Linked DNA regions of Homo sapiens: region 2 is linked to region 1. Evidence: promoter capture Hi-C in human tissues and cell types (Jung and others, 2019). All regions are on one chromosome and are shown on one strand. The core of a region is centred on a gene start or on the middle of the fragment in contact, and the rest is flanking DNA. Distances in the headings are between cores, read along the strand shown.

Region 1 (2,700 bases), core at 167-2,666:
ACCCCCTTCTTCCCTTTGCCCCCAGCAGGAGACCTTAGAAAACAAGGGCTTGATAGATGAGCCACAGTGAGCCAGGGGGTGGGAGTGACTCCTGGGCCATAGACGAGGAAACTGAAAGGCAGGCACTGGAGGCAAGAAGGGCTGGCCCCGGGCACCCGCTGGCGAGGACAGCCTTGGAGAGGGCCTGCAGCTCCTCCCCTCTGAGCTGTGCTGCGCTGGCCGCCTGGACCAGGGTGGCTGCTGGAGAGTGTTTTCCCTCTGGGTTTCCTTCTCCTTGGCTCCCAGGGAATCCTCTGGCGGTGCCTCCGGGAGGCTGGTAGCCGGGGAAGCAGGCACGTGAATCCACCGGGCTGCCCCACCCCAACCTGAGGTCAGAGCTGAGGCGTAGGGGCCGGGGTAGGGGCAGAGGTGCCGAAACGCACTAGCTGGGGACTCCCGGGGGAAGGAGATAGGAGAGACCCAAGGCGAGCCTTAGGACTCGCCCCTATGACTATGACTACGCGCTGCGTCCGAACCACATGTCCACCCCGCATTTGCCTTCGGGGACCAGACCGCGCTCCCTCAGATGGCTGGGGAGGGAGCAGACTCCGGGTGAAGGCTGGGGGAGGTACCGGGATGCCGAGTACGCCAGAGCAGGCGGGGGATGGGTTCCGGCTTCCTGCCGCCTCGGCATCTCGCTTTGCACCGGGCAAAGAAGGGGCCACGACCGGCGAAGAGCGCGTGGAGACACAGGGACCCGCGATCCAGGGGCAGGAACCCCGCCCCCTCCCGGAAACCTCCCGGGCCCTGAGTCGTGCCCGGCGCTCCCCACCCCACCCCACCCCCGCCGCCCCTGCCGTCACTCACGGCCGCTGCGGGCTGGCTAGCGTGTGCGCTCTCCGCGCCGCAGGCACCTGCTCGCTGGGCGCTGTGCGCTCACTTCTCCCTCGCGCACTGCAGACTCCCGGCGCTGCCGCCGCCACCCAGCGTAGTCTCCGGCTGGGCACAGCGTTCCGCCCTTCTCGCGGCCCCGGGCGCCCACCCATCCGTCATGGCCCAGGCCTGGGCCAAACAGCGGGGCAGCTGGTTGCCCAAACTGGGGTAAGGAGTTGAGGGCTGGGAGCTGCAGAGAGGACCGAGGGACACACGGGGAGCAGGGATGAGCGGCCGTCTCGAGCCGTGCAGACTGGGAAGAAGCCAGGGAGAGTTTGGGTGGGAGGACTCCCAACCCAAGCGGGTGCGGGGCGGGGCTGTACTCCAACCAGAAAGACGGTGGTCCCTCCGAGCGACCCCCGAGGAGAGAGGGGGAGCGCTCTGGGGCGGGGGCGGGGCGGGCTGTGGCAGGAGAGGGGAGGGCGGGGGCGATGCAGCGGTGGAGGCGGCTTGGCGCCCAGCCACTGACCGCCCCCTCCCTTCCCCTCCCCTCCCCCTCTCCCCGCCTCTCTCCGGCTCCGGGTCCGCCACGCCGGACCCGCTCTCCCCGCGCTGCGCTGGGTCGGACGCCAGGTCTGCGCGCCGCGGCTGAGCGCCCACTCGCCCTGCGGAAAGAGCCGCGGAGGAACCGGCGGGGGCGGCTGCGGGAGCCGAAGGAGGTGGCAATCGGGAGCAGAACCAGAAGGAGACAGGGAGGCAGAAGCTCGCGGCTCCGTGGCACGCACTCCCTCGGCCAGGGATGGGTCCCGGCGCGGCCCAGCCCCTGCCCGGCCCGCCGGGCAGAGACTGAACCGCGGATCCCCACCGTCCTGTGGACGACCGGACAGAGAGAGGCACTGACCGATCGCCAGCAGCCTCCCGGTGGGACCGCGTCTCCTGCACACCCCGCGCAGCGCCCCCCGCCGGAGCCGCACCGGGCAAGCCGGCGAGGGAGCGGGGCTGATTGGCGGCCGCCGGCGGCCAGGGGAGGGGGCGCCGCGCGGGGCCATGGCAGGCTCGGAGGCGTCCTAGCCCGAGCCGGAGCCGATCCGAGCCCACGCGGCCGCCGCCTCTCCGCTCCCGGGCCCCCGCCGCCACCGCGCCCCCCGCGGGAGATGGAACAGCGGAACCGGCTCGGTGCCCTCGGATACCTGCCGCCTCTGCTGCTGCATGCCCTGCTGCTCTTCGTGGCCGACGGTGAGCGCGGGAACTTTGCTGCCGCTGTGGACTCGGGGGGGTCTTTGCTGGGGCCGCCACCGAGAAGAAGAAGAAAGAGAACGAACCGGGAAGCTTCGCGGTCTCCAGCAATCCCGCTGTGCAGCCTGGGCCCGGAGGGGTAGGGAGAGGCGAGCGGCGAAGGGTCGCCGCAGCAGCAGCGCCGCGCCCGAGTCGTTCCCAGTCCCGCCGGGGCCCCGGCTGCGGAAAGGATGCCTGCGGGGAGCGGGAGTAGGCGCGCCCCAGCCAGGCTCTGGCGGTGCGGCCAGGGGCGGGGGAGAAGCACGAGTCGCCCCTGCCGCCCCGCCCCATCCGGAGGGAAGCAGTAGGCAGCCGATGGCCGGTCCCTGCCTCGGCCCTGCAGCCGCTTCCCCGAACTTTGCTAGCCCCTCCGGCCGTGCGCCAGGGAGCAGCTGCGGGGTGGGGGGCACAAGGCCAGCCAGCCAGAGACCGACTGCCTCGCTTTAGGTTGCCCCAGGCCCCCGACCTACAGCTGGTCACGCCTCTCTCTCTCTCCCCACCCCCAGCTGCATTCACAGAAGTCCCCAAAGATGTGACAGTACGGGAGGGAGACGACATCGAAATGCCCTGCGC
Region 2 (2,700 bases), core at 21-2,520, 230 kb before region 1:
ACTTGGGTGCAAGTAGTTGATTTGAGAGGTGACCTCAGGGAACAGGAGCAACGGAGCAGGAGGAAGCCAGTGACAGGGTGCAGCCCTGTGGGAAATGGGGGCCCAATCTGCAGGGCCAACGCAGTGTTGTGAAATTCTTCGAGCAGTCTCTGGAGAGCAGGGGAGCATGGAGCTCAGAACTGCCCCTCTGAAGGACTAGAGATTGGGCGTGGATCCCCACAGCATCCCCTGCTGGTAGAGGGTTCATCCTTGAGTGTGTTAACCCTTCTGCTCTTCCAGACTGTGCCTCTGCATGGCTGATTAGACTCCCACAGCTCAAAGAAAGCTCCGAATCAAAAAAGCAGAGGTTGCAGGCTGCCTGCCAGAAGTGAGACCCTGGTGATGGGCCTGGCACTGCTCACTGCAGTGCTGATGTCAGGAGGGCCCAGGATGTGGCACAGAGCATGAGAGCCATCTGCAGCAGCACCTGTGCCCAGCAGTGTGCTAAGCACCAAATGAGAGCAGAAGTCATTGTGAAAAACAGTGCCCAGCCTCAATGACTCCTAGGAAAGTTTGGAATAGACAAGTGACCCCCGGGGCCCCAGCCCAGAAGCCTAAGTTAGAATTGAGTAACAAGAAGAAAAGATGCTGTTATTTAAAACAAAATTTGACTGCAGTGGCTGCAGCACTCTCAGGCAGAGGCCAAGTTCTTCGTAGGGGTAGGTGGCCTTTTTGTTTAGAAACATACTTCAGAGGATCTCTTTGTGTGTGTGAAAATATAGGCCCCAGGGCACAGTGGGAAGGAGAAAGGCAGAGCGCTCTGCTCTGTAGTGATTGGAGTTTTTGTCTTGTTTGTTTGGAGGGGGCTTGTGATGCGAAGAAGAAAATTGACGGAGCTTGGGACACAAAGGTCAACTGGCAGGAGTGGATTGGACCTTGGAAGGAAGGCAGTCAGGAGTTACTCCCTGTAGAGGGATGGTCAGGGGGCCACAAGGCAAGGATTGCTCACAAAACAGCCACATCAAGTCGGTGCATTCTGTGATATGCTGATATTAACTATCTGGTGTCCCTGACCCTTCGGTATGAAACATCTTAGCCTCTCATTAGTTATGCTTTGGGAAACAAAGAAAGAGGAACATTGGGGGTGAATTAAGATAGAGAGAAGAGAGCAGCCATGGAAAGAGAGTGGGGGACAAGAACTCAGCAGGGCAGATGCAGGTAGGTGAGCTCCAAAACTGGGTCTCAGCCCAGGAGGACTCTTGGCTTCACCCAGGAAAGCATTCAAGGGTGAGCTGGTGGTATCAGACACGTTTTATGGAAGCTGCAGTGCACAGCAGCAGTAGAAGGACTGCTCCTTGCAGAGCAGGGATACCCCACAGGCAGTGGGCCCAGAGTAGCAGTTCAGAGGCAGTGCTGCACTCATATTTATACCCACTTTTAATGACATGCAAATTAAGGGGAGGGTTATGCAGAAATTTCTAAGAAAAGGGTGGTAACTCCCAGGTGTTGCCATGGCAATGGTAACTGACATGGTACACTGGTGGGTGTGTCTTACGGGAAGCTGCTTCTGCCTTGTACCTGTTTTAGCTAGTCCGCAATTTGGTCCGGTGTCTGAGCCCTGCCTCCAAAGTCAAGTCCCGCCTCCTATCTCAGGGCTGAGTATCCAGGGATATGTGCTCCCTTAGGAATCCTCGGAGAAGTTGAGAAGACACTAGACATCTCACAGCATGCAGAGTAGGGGCTTGAGTCTGCATATTTGAAGTTGGAGGAAAGTGTGGCCCCCTTAAGCCTGAAGAACACAGGACTCTGGGCTGTAATTCAGATCTATTTGGTACCCAGTTATCACTACCAAAAACGCAGCTCAGCCGGGTCCCATGCCAGAGAGGGAAGCCCAGGGATGACAAATGTGGCCCCTGCCCTCGGATTATGCCAATGTCCTAGGGCGTTCCAGTTGTCAGCAACCAACCTGGCTAAGCAATGCCTGAGATGGCCTGGTGGGAGGCTCCATAAGCTGACCAGAGACATCCTGGAAGACCCCCAGGAGAAGGGACATCAGAACATCAGCTTGAATGATGAGAAAAAAATAGCAATAGGTAGAAAGCGAGAGAGAAGAAACTGTGGGCAAAGAAAAGAGAAGAGTTTCTGGAGGGAGAGACCCTCATGGGGTCTTCCCTAGGCCACCAGGAACACACAGGTGTCACCTTCTGTATCTGTCAGGGGTCTTGGGGAAACTGAGGCACACTCAGAGTCATTGAGAAGAGTTTAGTGAAGGGACTGCTCACATGGGATAGAGAGGACTAGAGGGATGCAGTAAACCCAAGGCCACGGCTGTGCACATCACTACTGCCTGACCCACAGGGGACAGTGCCACTGTGGAAGAGGCCACAGGAAGGAGCTGGGGATTTCAGAGAGGAGCCCAACCCCTGCCACTTTTAGCCTAGCAGGGAGGGAGCAGGGCAGATGAATATCCCGATCTCTTTCTTCCATCCAACCAGTCCCGCCCCCATTGACTAACCGAGCTGGAAACAGAGGTCACGGGAGCCTGGTCAGTGCAGCCCTGCAGACCTAGACCCACCTAGCGTGGGTGTGGAGAGGCTTCCGGAGAGCATCCTGTGTACTTGCTGACAAATCAGCCACCTGTCCCTTGCAAGCTGTCCAGCATGAGCTGGCCTCATGCGCTGAAGCTCAGCCCTGCTTTTAGAGAGGTGATCAGCAGAGTCG

The links. Contacts are between HindIII fragments. The study calls those that stand out against the background at their distance.
Region 2: a contact is called between a fragment that was not itself captured here and the fragment with the promoter of VSTM2B in region 1, in 3 of the 25 tissues and cell types used here (H1 embryonic stem cells, dorsolateral prefrontal cortex and mesendoderm cells).

What each region holds. Positions count from the first base shown.
Region 1 is chr19:29,524,578-29,527,277 of GRCh38, forward strand. VSTM2B (V-set and transmembrane domain containing 2B) reads left to right here and starts at 1,417. Exons shown (of 5, transcript NM_001146339.2): 1 at 1,417-2,088; 2 at 2,634-2,700. The coding sequence starts at 2,007. VSTM2B-DT (VSTM2B divergent transcript) reads right to left here and starts at 1,173. Exons shown (of 10, transcript NR_040029.2): 1 at 847-1,173. The region is part of intron 1 of LOC124904683 (a long non-coding RNA gene); the gene reads right to left. The HindIII fragment of the contact is 17,468 bases long and covers 1-2,700 here.
Region 2 is chr19:29,290,845-29,293,544 of GRCh38, forward strand. All of the region lies in intron 9 of VSTM2B-DT (VSTM2B divergent transcript), which reads right to left. Among named protein-coding and RNA genes, the nearest start is that of UQCRFS1-DT, 79 kb to the left of the region's middle. The HindIII fragment of the contact is 8,231 bases long and covers 1-2,700 here.